Regions from separate parts of the Homo sapiens genome. Here regions 1 and 2 are each linked to region 3. The links are contacts of gene promoters, found by promoter capture Hi-C in human tissues and cell types (Jung and others, 2019). All regions are on one chromosome and are shown on one strand. The core of a region is centred on a gene start or on the middle of the fragment in contact, and the rest is flanking DNA. Distances in the headings are between cores, read along the strand shown. Region 1 overlaps IQANK1 (IQ motif and ankyrin repeat containing 1). Region 2 holds the start of GRINA (glutamate ionotropic receptor NMDA type subunit associated protein 1). Region 3 holds the start of EPPK1 (epiplakin 1).

The links. Contacts are between HindIII fragments. The study calls those that stand out against the background at their distance.
Region 1: a contact is called between a fragment that was not itself captured here and the fragment with the promoter of EPPK1 in region 3, in 4 of the 25 tissues and cell types used here (dorsolateral prefrontal cortex, mesenchymal stem cells, mesendoderm cells and 1 more).
Region 2: a contact is called between the fragment with the promoter of GRINA here and the fragment with the promoter of EPPK1 in region 3, in 3 of the 25 tissues and cell types used here (liver, mesendoderm cells and thymus).

The regions. Positions count from the first base shown.
Region 1 is chr8:143,761,899-143,765,954 of GRCh38, forward strand. All of the region lies in intron 3 of IQANK1 (IQ motif and ankyrin repeat containing 1), which reads left to right. Among named protein-coding and RNA genes, the nearest start is that of IQANK1, 30 kb to the left of the region's middle. The HindIII fragment of the contact is 9,724 bases long and covers 1-4,056 here.
Region 2 is chr8:143,988,213-143,992,355 of GRCh38, forward strand. GRINA (glutamate ionotropic receptor NMDA type subunit associated protein 1) reads left to right here and starts at 1,844. Exons shown (of 7, transcript NM_001009184.2): 1 at 1,844-1,987; 2 at 2,988-3,390; 3 at 3,480-3,592; 4 at 3,666-3,866; 5 at 4,033-4,143. The coding sequence starts at 3,012. It also overlaps a transcript of PARP10 not described here. RefSeq lists silencers at 1,776-2,275, 2,296-2,435, 2,566-2,825, 2,749-3,043, 2,876-2,925 and an enhancer at 3,589-4,090. The HindIII fragment of the contact is 16,067 bases long and covers 1-4,143 here.
Region 3 is chr8:143,877,109-143,880,979 of GRCh38, forward strand. It overlaps EPPK1 (epiplakin 1), which reads right to left and starts at 1,359. Exons shown (of 2, transcript NM_031308.4): 1 at 1,330-1,359. RefSeq lists a silencer at 1,413-1,502 and an enhancer at 2,069-2,711. The HindIII fragment of the contact is 27,880 bases long and covers 1-3,871 here.

The sequences.
Region 1 (4,056 bases), core at 1,497-3,996, 110 kb before region 3:
TACATTCTCCCTCTATAGGACATATATAAAGGAGAGTGGGATAGATATTGTATTTCAAGGAGAGTAACACAGTATATCATTTCTACTTATCGTAGAGCTTCTGTGTGTCTACAAAGTGTGATTATGGGTGTCCAATCATTTATGGTATTTGTATCCCATTCGTAAAGTAAGAGTTTACTTTAAAATGTATCAATATACCAGAAATCTGATCCTTTGTAACTATTTAAACTTGTTAGGAAGAACTTTAGATGTCAGCATAGAAATATACCAGGCGTGGTGGCAAGCACCTGTAATCCCAGCTACTCGGGAGGCTGAGGTGGGAATCGCTTGAACCCAGAAGGCAGTGGTTGCAGTGAGCCGAGATCGCGCCATTGCACTCCAGCCTGGGCAACAAGAGTGAAACTCCATCTAAAGGAAGGAAGGAAGGAAGGGAGGGAGGGAGGGAAAAGAAAAGAAAAGAAAGTTTGAGGACCACAGTGTAGACGGCTGGATGTTCAGAGCTTTACCCAGGAGCCAGGCCCTGTTTGGCCAGCTGTGCCCATCTGCCAGGCATGGACATCTCACTAGGCAGCCAGGGCATCCACTGCTTCCAAAAGCTTCCCAGGTCCTATCCCTGTGCCCTCATCAGCATACTGCACTGTCAAGATCATCTCAGGGGTGCTGAGACCACCAAGCTCCCTGTGGACATGACAAGATGGGAAGATACGCTGATGCCACTTCCATGGAGGGGCAACTTGCTTCTGGTGAATGTTGATTGAGGAAGGAAAAAATATTTACCAGATCAGTCACTGCATAACAGGTGGTAAATTGTATTGATTTGTTTCATTAAGGAGAACACACTTGGAACAGCAGCTGCAAGGGGAGTCACCTTCTGATTAAGCTGACAATGACCTAGGCATTCCCCAAAACCATCATTTTCTATTGAAATAAAACTGGAGAATGAAGTCTCAGACTGTGCAATTAGTCTACGCAATCCCCTAGTGATGCTGTGTTTTCTCTGACAGGCTGTTGTGGTAGGAAATTCATGACCCTCCCTCTTTTCTTTTTTTTTCTTTTCTCTTTTCTTTTCTTTCCTTTCCTTTCCTTTTGTTTTCCTTTTCCTTTTCCCTTTCTTTTCCTTTTCTTTTTCTTTTCTTAAAACTGAGTCTTGCTCTGTCACCCAGGCTGGAGTGCAGTGGTGCGATCTCAGCTCACTGCAACCTCTGCCTCCTGGTTCAGGAGATTCTCCTGCCTCAGCCCCCTGAGTAGCTGGGATTACAGGCGCCCGCCACCACGCCTGGCTAATTTTTGTATTTTTATTAGAGACGGGGTTTCACCATGTCAGCCAGGCTGGTCTCAAAGTCCTGACCTCATGATCTGCCCGCCTTGGCCTCCCAAAGTGCTGGGATTACAGGCGTGAGCCACCGTGCCCGGCCTGGCTTTTCTTATAATGATGGTAAGAATATGATAATGGTAGTTAACATCTGTTGAATGCTTATTGTGTGTGAGACCCTGCTCTAAGTATTTTATATTTATTAGCTGATATGGTTTGGTCCCCTCCAAATCTCGTATTGAAGTGTGATCCCCAATGTCAAAAGTGGGGCCTGGTGGGAGGTGTTTGGATCATGGGGGCGGGTCTCTCATGAATGGTTTGGTGCCCTCCTCACCATCATTAGTTCCACTCCGTGAGCTCACAAGCTCGCACGAGAGCTGGTTGGTTACACAGCCTGGCATCCATCTTGCTCTGCCACTTGCCATGGGGCACACCTGCTTCTCCTTTACCTTCTACCATGAGTAAAGGCTTCCTGAGGCCTCCCCAGAAGCAGAGCAGATGCAGGTGCCATGCTTGTGCAGCCTGCAGAACCGTGAGCCAAGTAAACCTCTTCTCTTTATAAATTACCCAGTCTCAGGTGTTCCTCTGTGGCAATGCAAAAACAGACTAACACATTAGCCAATTGATCCTCCAAACAGAAACAAAATCCACAAGCCCTAGGGGCAGGCAGAGTGGTTAACCCTCTTTTAACATATGAATACACTGGGGACTTAAGCTGGTAATTTTTTGTTATACGAGATATGATAATTCATTTCAACGGAGTCACAAAAAGTCCCTCAAGTTTTGATTTGGGAATTTAAAAATATGTAGCTGATCTGGGAATAGAAGGATGATTCTCCTTCAAGGACCATGCCTTGTTTAAAGTTCTACATTCCTCTGATACTCTCAGCAGTCACAGAACAGAGACAGGAAACATTGTGTGGAGGGCCCGCCGGAAGGACTCGGCGGCAGAGGATTCCACCTGCACAGGAAAGGTGGACAGCTGCTTGGTAGCAGAAAAAAAACGAACAAAACCTGACTCATACAACCTGTAAGCAACGCCCCCAAATCAAAGGAAAAAGCTGCAGATCACAAATCATCCAATATTCCAGTATCCCAGTATTCAGAAATAACAAACGTGCAGACCAGGCGCAGTGGCTCCTGCCTTAAACCCCAGCACTCTGGGAAGTTGAGGTGGGAGGATCACTTGAGCTCAGGAGTTTGAGACCAGCCTGGGCAACATGGTGAGACTCCGTCGCTACAAAAAAAAAAAAAAAAATTAGTGCCTGTAGTCCCAGCTCCTCAGGAGACTGAGGTGGGTGGATCACCTGAGCCTGGGGAGGTCAAGGCTGCAGTGAGCCGTGATGGCGTCACTGCACTCCAGCCTCAGTAACAAAGCAAGACCCTGTTTCTAAAAAAACCAAACAAAACAAAACTGAAAAAAGAAATAACAAACGTGCAAACATTTGATAAATAATCCAAATATTTCTCTCTCCATTTTTACAGGGGTAAATTTCCATAATTATGAAGAGGCAGAAAGAGATGGAGAGAGAGAATGTTATAACAGCAGAGATATTTTATACATTTCATTTTAAAAATAAAATGTTAAATTTAACAAATGAAAATTAGTGAACCTCAAGGAATTGCTGGATGCATAAAAATCTCTTAAAAATTGTGTACAAAAGAACATATGTAATATATATGTGCCTTAGGACAATAGAATGTAAGAGCTCACATGTCACCAACACTATTGCATCCCCACCTAACTCTGCTCCTCCCTGCAGATGAATCCACTCTTACAAATGTGTTCACCATTCCCTTACTTTTAAAATACAATTTTCAAAAAATAAAAAATAAAAATTTCAAGAATCATATATATAGCCGCGCCGGGTTTGTTGGCTCATGTCTGTAATCCCAGCACTTTGGGAGGCCAAGGCGGGCAGATCCCTTGAGGTCAGGAGTTCAAGACCAGCCTGGCCAACGTGGTAAAACCCCGTCTCTACCAAAAAATACAGAAGTTAGCCAGGCATGGTGGCGCACGCCTGTAATCCCCGCTACTTGGGAGGCTGAGGTGGGAGAATCACTTGAACCCTGGAGGCCGAGGTTGCAGTGAGCCAGGATCACACCACTGCACTCCAGCCTGGGAGACAGAGTAAGACCTTGTCTCAAAAAAAAAAAATCATATATTTATGATTATATATAATCCTCTCATCCTCACCCAATCTGAGAATGTCTATCTTTACATTTTGCAAAATTACTGGATATAAAATGAGCCTCCATGGTAATTTTAGTTTGCATTTCATGGAATGTGTTTTCAAAGGTTTATTAGCCAATCCATTTTCCTCTTCTGGGAAATGCCTGTTCATCTCTCTGCCCATTGCTCTATGGATTACTTACCTGTTTCTTTGACATATGCAGAAGTTCTTTAACAGGTTTATGTGTTGCAAATTTCTTTTCCAAATTTATATGGTTTTTCACTTTTGGTATGTTATTTTTAGATAAGCAGAAGTTTTACATTTTGACATGCTTTAGTCGTCTTTTCCTTTGTGGTATATAAAGTACATATTTTAAAAGTCATCCTTTGTTTTATGTAGCTGTGGTTCATGTTCATGGCTGTTTAGGTGTCTGTTATGTGCATATAACATTACTGATTCATTCTACTGCTGGTAGACATTTGGATTATTTGTAGATTTTGGTTTTAAAAATAACACTAGCATGGATTTTCTTGCACGTGTCTCCTGGTGCACACATCCATGCATTTTTGG
Region 2 (4,143 bases), core at 594-3,093, 110 kb after region 3:
GATCTCGGCTCACTGCAACGTCCACCCACTGGGTTCAAGGGATTCTCCTGCCTAAGCCTCCCAAGTAGCTGGGATTACAGGCACGCACCACCATGCCCAGCTAATTTTTGTATTTTTAGCAGAGACAGGGTTTCACCCTATTGGGCAGACTGGTCTCAAACTCCTGACCTCAGATGATCCACCTGCCTCAGCCTCCCAAAGTGCTGGGATTACTGGTGCCAGCCACCATACCCAGCTATTTTATTTTTATTTACTTATTTATTTATTTTTTGAGACAGAGTCACACTCTGTTACGCAGGCTGGAGTGCGGTGGCACGATCTCAGCTCACTGTAACCTCTGCCTCCCAGGTTCAAGCCATTCTCCTGCCTCAGCCCCCCCAATAGCTGGGATTACAGGTGCACACCACCACGCCCAGCTAATTTTTTTTTGTATTTTTAGTAGAGACGGGGTTTCACCGTGTTAGCCAGGATGGTCTCCATCTCCTGACCTTGTGATCCACCCGCCTCGGCCTCCCAAAGTGCTGGGATTACAGGCGTAAGCCACCGCGCCCAGCAAGCATTTTATTTTTCTTAAAGGTCTCTCAAATTTTGTGAGCTTCTGCTTCTACAAAGGTAGAAGTTACCTTCTACAAGGGTAAATCCATCCCTGCTTTTTCCACGTTTTCTCTAATGGAACTCATCACAGGTTATCCATTACGCCGACCCTGGCTGCAGAGGGCCTGCCACAGGCACCACTCACACCACAAGCAGACTGGTACAGTTTCGGGAATTTCTGTGGACTGGTTGTCCAGCTGGGGGTAACTTGAAACCAGCCCCGGTGGAGTATTCACACCACGCGCATGTGCAAAACACGCACCCCAGGCTTCCCCTCACTAGGTCCGGCTGCTAAACACTGCGCCAGCGCACCATAGGTGCAGGACTCAGAGCGGCCTGGGAGAGGCCGGCCCTCCAAGGGCGGGAGGGCAGGTGGGGTCTGGGCCCCGGGTGGGAAGGCTGGCAGCAGGATGTACCCTGCCTGTGTCAGTCACTGCTCCCCCAAGAGGACTTGGGAGCTAAGCAGGGAGGTGGCCTGGCCTCCAGTCCTGCTGCATCCCCAAGCCTCAGCCCCTCGCAGCTTGTGAGGACGTTAGGCAGACAAGCGAGCGTTCAGGGTCTCTAGTGTGAAAACAAGACATCGTATTTGTTAGTACAAAGGGTGACTGTGGTCAAGAATAATTGTACATTTTAAAACAACTCCAAGAGTATAACTGGATTGTTTGTAACACGAAGGACAAAATGCCTGAGCTGATGGATACCCCATTTACCTTGATGTGATTATTATCCATGGCATGCCTGTATCAAAACATCCCATGTAGCCCGTAAATATACACCTACTATGTATCCACAAGAATTAAAAAAATAAAAAAGGGTCTCTAGTAGCAGGCCTGGCAGAGTTTGGGCTGACAGAGCAAATGGGGCAATTAAACCACGAGGCCTCGATTTGGGAACTAAAGGATTAGGCTTCTTGATTTGGGAGAGATCTGGATGAAAAGAAGTGAACGTCGGGTTTTAAGGCCGAGAACGGACGGTCAGTCCCGGGCAGCTTCAGCAAATCCCGCATTTAGGAATAAATTTCTTAACTACCGAACGGCCAGTCAAATTGGCCAGACCAGACTTCTGCCTCCAGGGGTCTTCAGCGCCCACCGCCCGACCCCACCCCTCGGCAGACAGTGAGAGGCGGGCCTCTGGCCGGAGCGAAGAGGAACACGCAAGGCGGCGCAGCGGGAGGGGTCCGCGGAAGCCCCGCCCACCTGCCCCTCCCACCCCGAAGCTCGCCCGGCCCCGCCCCCTGCCCCGCCCCGTCACAAGGCCCCGCTGCGTCTTCCGAGCCGCAGGCGCAGGCCCAGCTGAGCGGCCGCCGAGCGGGTGCGGGTGCGGGCGCATCGGCCATCACCGCGCGGCCGCGCAGCGGACACCGTGCGTACCGGCCTGCGGCGCCCGGCCACCGGTGAGTCCCCGGCCCGAGCCCAGGAGCGCCTCTGACCCGCTGCGCCGCGCGGCCTGCCGCCCCCGCCCCCGCCCCCACGCGGATCTTGCGCATCCGAGCGTGGCCGCCTCGGGTCAGTAAGTTGGTCCGGCCGGGGCGCGCGGCAGCTCGCGGCCAGAGGTGGCGGCGGTGGTGGGGGCGGGGAGCCGCGGCGGCCTGGAGCCGGAGGGAGGGGGCGGCGCGCTGCGGCGACTGCTGGACCCGTGACCCTGTGCGCCCCCGGCCCGCGGAGGGCCCATCCGCTCTCGGTGCCAGTGCCACGGCCGCAGCCCCTACCCGCCTCGCCCCACGCCCGCTTTGTTCCCCGCACGCCCCGTGGTCGCTTCCATCCCCCACACACCCCCGCACCCCGCTGTTCCCGGCGTACCCCACTGGCAGGCACCGGCAGCCGATCCAGGCCCGATCCCCCCACCCCGGAGCCAGGGGCCGTTGGGCCCTGTTGTTGGGCTCGCGGGGGTGGGGGGGCTCGGGCCTTTGTTGGTCACAGATGGCCCGGGGATTTCCTGGGATAGAAATAGCCGCCGGCTCCGGCCCCTTAAAGCTGCTTAAGGGGCGGGATGCGGAGGGGAGGGTCCGGGCACACCCCACACGTCCCCGGCCGAGACCCCAGCCTCCGCGCTGAGCTCCCACCCGGGAGACGCCGGCAGCGGCGCAGGCCTCCGGTTGCTTGTGAGAAACGACCCAAGCCCCAAATCCCGAGGCTGGCGGTCGTCCCCTCGCCCGGCCCCTCCCCCACCCTAAAGGCGGCCTAGAGCCCTGGGAAGGCCCCACGGCGCCGCCCGTCCGGTCCTCACGCGCTTCTCCGGGCCCAGGCTCCGGGGCTCCCCACAGCCCGGGGCAAAGGTCACGGTCTTCCCTTGCTTCCCCCTGGGTTCCCAGAAGCAGGTGGAGTTGCGCAGGGCTGGGTCCCGACGCTGTCGTCAAGCCAACTGTTCCACTGTTCCTTGTCTGTCTTCTCTAGGGGCGGACCGCGGAACCCGAGGCCATGTCCCATGAAAAGAGTTTTTTGGTGTCTGGGGACAACTATCCTCCCCCCAACCCTGGATATCCGGGGGGGCCCCAGCCACCCATGCCCCCCTATGCTCAGCCTCCCTACCCTGGGGCCCCTTACCCACAGCCCCCTTTCCAGCCCTCCCCCTACGGTCAGCCAGGGTACCCCCATGGCCCCAGCCCCTACCCCCAAGGGGGCTACCCACAGGGTCCCTACCCCCAAGGGGGCTACCCACAGGGCCCCTACCCACAAGAGGGCTACCCACAGGGCCCCTACCCCCAAGGGGGCTACCCCCAGGGGCCATATCCCCAGAGCCCCTTCCCCCCCAACCCCTATGGACAGCCACAGGTCTTCCCAGGACAAGACCCTGACTGTGAGTCTCAGGAAGGGAGGGGTGGGGTGGCCGGGAGGGCAGGGGGAGGTGCTTGTGAGTGGCGCTGACCCAGCCTGTCTGCTTCTCAGCACCCCAGCATGGAAACTACCAGGAGGAGGGTCCCCCATCCTACTATGACAACCAGGACTTCCCTGCCACCAACTGGGATGACAAGAGCATCCGACAGGCCTTCATCCGCAAGGTGGGTAGGGGCATCTCCAAGGCGGTGGGGGCTGTGGCTCCCAGCGGATGACTCTGAGCGGCTCCTTCCCCAGGTGTTCCTAGTGCTGACCTTGCAGCTGTCGGTGACCCTGTCCACGGTGTCTGTGTTCACTTTTGTTGCGGAGGTGAAGGGCTTTGTCCGGGAGAATGTCTGGACCTACTATGTCTCCTATGCTGTCTTCTTCATCTCTCTCATCGTCCTCAGCTGTTGTGGGGACTTCCGGCGAAAGCACCCCTGGAACCTTGTTGCACTGGTAACCCCCAAACCTGAGCCTCTGTGCCTGGGTCCGGCCATGCAGTCCCACACGCCCACTCTTCCGGGCCTGGTCACCGTGGTTCTCCTTGTGCTCATGAGGCAGGGGCCGGCAGGGGTGGCATGGGGGCACACACCCAAGGTCAGCCTGTGTCTCCCAACTGCAGTCGGTCCTGACCGCCAGCCTGTCGTACATGGTGGGGATGATCGCCAGCTTCTACAACACCGAGGCAGTCATCATGGCCGTGGGCATCACCACAGCCGTCTGCTTCACCGTC
Region 3 (3,871 bases), core at 109-2,608:
CTGCCAGTGCATGCCCCGCACCATGCGTGAGATGCGGCCTGTGGCTGGCTGCACCACTCCCTATCTCTTCCTGACCTTGGGCCTGGTATGAACCCCTCTGGGCCCTGCCCCTTCCCTGGGCCCTGCCCCTTCCCAGGCTTGGCAGGAGGAAGGCCCGGGAGTGGGTGTCTTGACTCCATGTGGGGCCTGGGAGGGCAGCTGGACAGAGGGTCCGGAGCGAGGGGGGGCAGGGGGTGCAGCTTCGAGTGTGGGGGCATCTGGAGGAGGTGGCTGCTGCCTAGGAGAGCACGGGGTCAGGGTTAGGGTGATGGGGTGGGGAGGAGGCCGAGCAGATTTCCCCGGAGCCTGAGGCACAAAGGGCCCCTCCTGTGGATTCCCCACTTCAGGTGGCCCCCAGGCCCCAAGTGGTGGAGGGCCGTTCCTGAGGAGGGTGGGTCTGCATCTCTTGGGTGAGGTCACTGTCTGTCACCAGACTGCCCGGCAGGCCCCCACCGCAGCCTGGGACAAAGGTTGGGGAGGCTGCAGCCGCCTGCCTGAGTCAGGTCAGGACAGACCCTGGCAGCTGCCTGGGCCCACACAGGAGGCAGCAGCCTTAGCTTCTGCCCGGCTGTGTGCCCTTGTGGGAAGACCCCACCCACCTGCAACCTGCACCATGATCAGAGATCAGTGGCCCCAATAACAAGCTTGGCACAGTGCAGCGGGGGCCCAGGGCAGGGAAGCAGAGCCCTGGGCCCAAGTGATGAACAGGGCCCTTCCTGCCTCTGCCTCCCACGGGTCTCCAGGCGACCGTGTGACCGCTTACCTGACCCGGAGTGGCCACCCCTGGGACCGCTCACCCAACAGCAGGCAGCTTCCCCGGATCCGTGACGCCTCCCTCCCGGCAATGTTGCCAGGAGTCACCCCTCTCAATTTGTCGGCCTAGCTGCCTCCTGGCCTGGGCGTTCCCCACCCTGCAGAGCGTGCCCCGGGCGGTCCTCGCTGCAGGGAAAACCGCTGGGCCTGCGAGACCCCCGCCCCTGGCCGCCTCTCCCGTGAGGGCTCGGGGCCGGCGCCTCCTCTTCACCGGCGCCCGGGACTCAGGGGCGCCACTTCGGACTCGGAGCTCAAATTGCCCAGGGCGGGAAACCTGCCCGGCCAGAGCCCAAGACCCCGCTGGCCGCCGCGCCCCTACCCTGGCCTCGGCGTGCGGCTCCAGCGGGGATCCGGTTTCCTTCGGCGGCCGCCGCCCCGCCCGGCCCCGAGCCCGCACCCGCACCCGCCGCACCTGCCCGCACCCGCCGCACCTGCCCGCACCCGCCGCACCCGCCGCACCCGCCGCACCCGCCGCACCTGCCCGCTCGCCGCTCGGTCCGCAGTGTCTCCGCGCGCCCGCTCCGCCCGCATTTCAAGCCCCACAGGCCCCGCCCCCGTCTAGGGCGGCGCCCAGGTCGGGGCCCCGACGCGGGGCGGGGCGGGGCGGGCAGGTGCCGGAAACCCCGCGCGGCCCGGGCCTGGCGCTTGCACCCCGGGCAAGGGGCGGCGGCTGGGCAGCCGGGACCCTCCCCTCGTCCCCAGCAGGGAGTCACCGCGAAGGAACGCAGGGCGGGCGCGGAGGCGTCCTGTGCCCTTCAGAACAGCTTTTTTTTTTTGGGAAAGGAGTTTGGAGTGAAACGCGGACCGGCCAGAGCGGCGGTTTCTATCCCCACAAGCCACTAATGCGGTGCGGGCTGGTGTCCCTGCCTCCAGCCCCGACCCCACCTTGTCTGCTCAGCTTCCTGGGGACGCTGCTTCACGTCGTGTGTCTGCTGGGTCCAGGGGTCTTCAAGGCTCTCCTTGGCAGGCCCCCCTGCCCCCATGACGTTGTAAGAGCTGGGATGTCCTGCCTGGAGCAGTGCCAGGCCTCACCCCCCGGTCTGGCTCCTCCACCTGGGCACAGAGAATGTTCCCTGTCACCCTGGGAGTACCTGGTCCCCTCTCTGAAGCCCATCCTGGCACCCACCTTCCAAGGCTGGGGCATGCCAGAGACACTGGGCATGGAGGCTCACAGCCTCGGGGGCTGGCCTGGGGGCAGCCTCAGCCTGGCACGGGAACCTTCCATGGATCTTCTGGAGGGCCCTCCCCTTGGCTGCCCCGATATCCCAGGTGGGCAGGGCCACGGAAGTACAGGGCCCAAAGCCCCTCCTCCTCTGTCCCCAAGGCCCCTCCTCCTCTGTCCCGTAGTCCTGGAGGTCCTGAGGGCTCAGGTGCTCCCCACCCCCACAAGTGCCCCCTTCTCCCAAGCTCCAGCCCCCACCTCTGCCTGAGTCATTCTTGACCAGAAAATCATCCAGAGCCAGCCAGCCACCTCCAATGCACACCATGAGGGTAATTGCAGGCGCCCACGCAGGTGCAGGAGGGACAGGTTAGGCCTTCAGGGGTTAGGGTGCTTGGGACCACTGCCCTGGCTCTGCTCTCACCCACCCACCAGGTCCACACTCACACCTGCTCACCCAGGCTGCCTGGACCCTGTCCACACCTGCCACACTGGCCGCACAGCATGGCTGCTGCCGACTGCGGGGCCCTGACCCCAGAGGAGCTCTGGTGGAACCCGCATTTCCCCAAGGCACTGCCAGGCCAACCGCATCCATCCCCAGCCCTGCTCACCGGATGCCTGGACACTGTCTGTGTGGTCTTGCTGGGAGGCATGGTGGTGCTGGCTATGGCCTGTGGCCTGGAGCACACCCCAGAGCCACTTCTTCCTGCGGTGAGCCATTGCAGGCAGCGCCCCTGCCAGGCCACAAAACCTGGGTGTATGCCAGCCCCTCGCTGCAAGAAGGGGGTGTTAGGCTGGCCAGACCAAGCCTTCTTGTGTGCCCAGGGACGGGCCACATGCCTGTCTGCTCCTCACCCCTCCGGTATAGGCAGGTGGCACAGAGCTGGCCCTGCTCCGCTGCACCCATTTCTGCCCGTCACCCCTCCAGTATAGGCAGGTGGCACGGAGCTGGCCCTGCTCCGCTGCACCCATTTCTGCCCGTCACCCCCCTGGTATAGGCAGGTGGCATGGAGCTGGCCCTGCTCTGCTGCACCCACTGGCATCTGTCCCCTGGCTCCTCTCCCTCGGCTTTGTCTTCCTGTGACTCCAGATCCCCTGCCCTGTGGTGGCCCCCAGCCCAGTGACCTCTGGGGACACCTCTGGGGGCAGACTTGGGTGCCTGCCCTACTCCCCAGGTCCCTGGGCCACTCCCAGTCAGGGCTTCTGGGAGCCACCACCTCCCCAGGGGCTCCAGTCCAGTGCTTCAGCCCAGCAGTCCCCGGAGCCACAGGCCACTCCTCCAGCCCCCAGGCCTGGGCCTATACCACCTACACAGCAAGGAAGGGCATCAGGGAGGGTGTCAGGAGGTGAGCGAGAGGGCTCCCATGCCCAGTACTGCCCACGGCTCTACCCACCTCCTCCTGGCACTGGCACCTAGCTTCCCCCTGCAGGTCAGGGAGGCTCTCAGAAGACCTGGTCCAAGGAGGGAGGTCCCAGAGCCCCAAGACCAGTGCCCACGCTGCCCCTGGGCTGCTCCATGGAGTCACCGTGCTGGTTGGAGCCTTTGGCCAGGATCCCCATTGGTCCCTTGGAGCCTGGCATGGCCCAGCTCGAAGGGGAGTGCCCGCCATTGCTCCATAAAGCATCTGGGAGCAGGGTGTCCCCTCCACGGCACATGGCCCAGAGAGGAGACAGGGCAGATGCAGGCAGGATGGAGGGCCCGGCGGGAGCGGGTGGGACAGAGCTGAGCAGCAGGCTGACCTCTCCACCAAGGGCCTGGACATAGCAGCCGGCAGCTCCAACCGCAGGCCCAGGTACAGGGGGCGGGCAGCCTTGGGGGTGAGCCTTCCTCTCAGGCTGGGTGCCCTCACAGCAAAGACA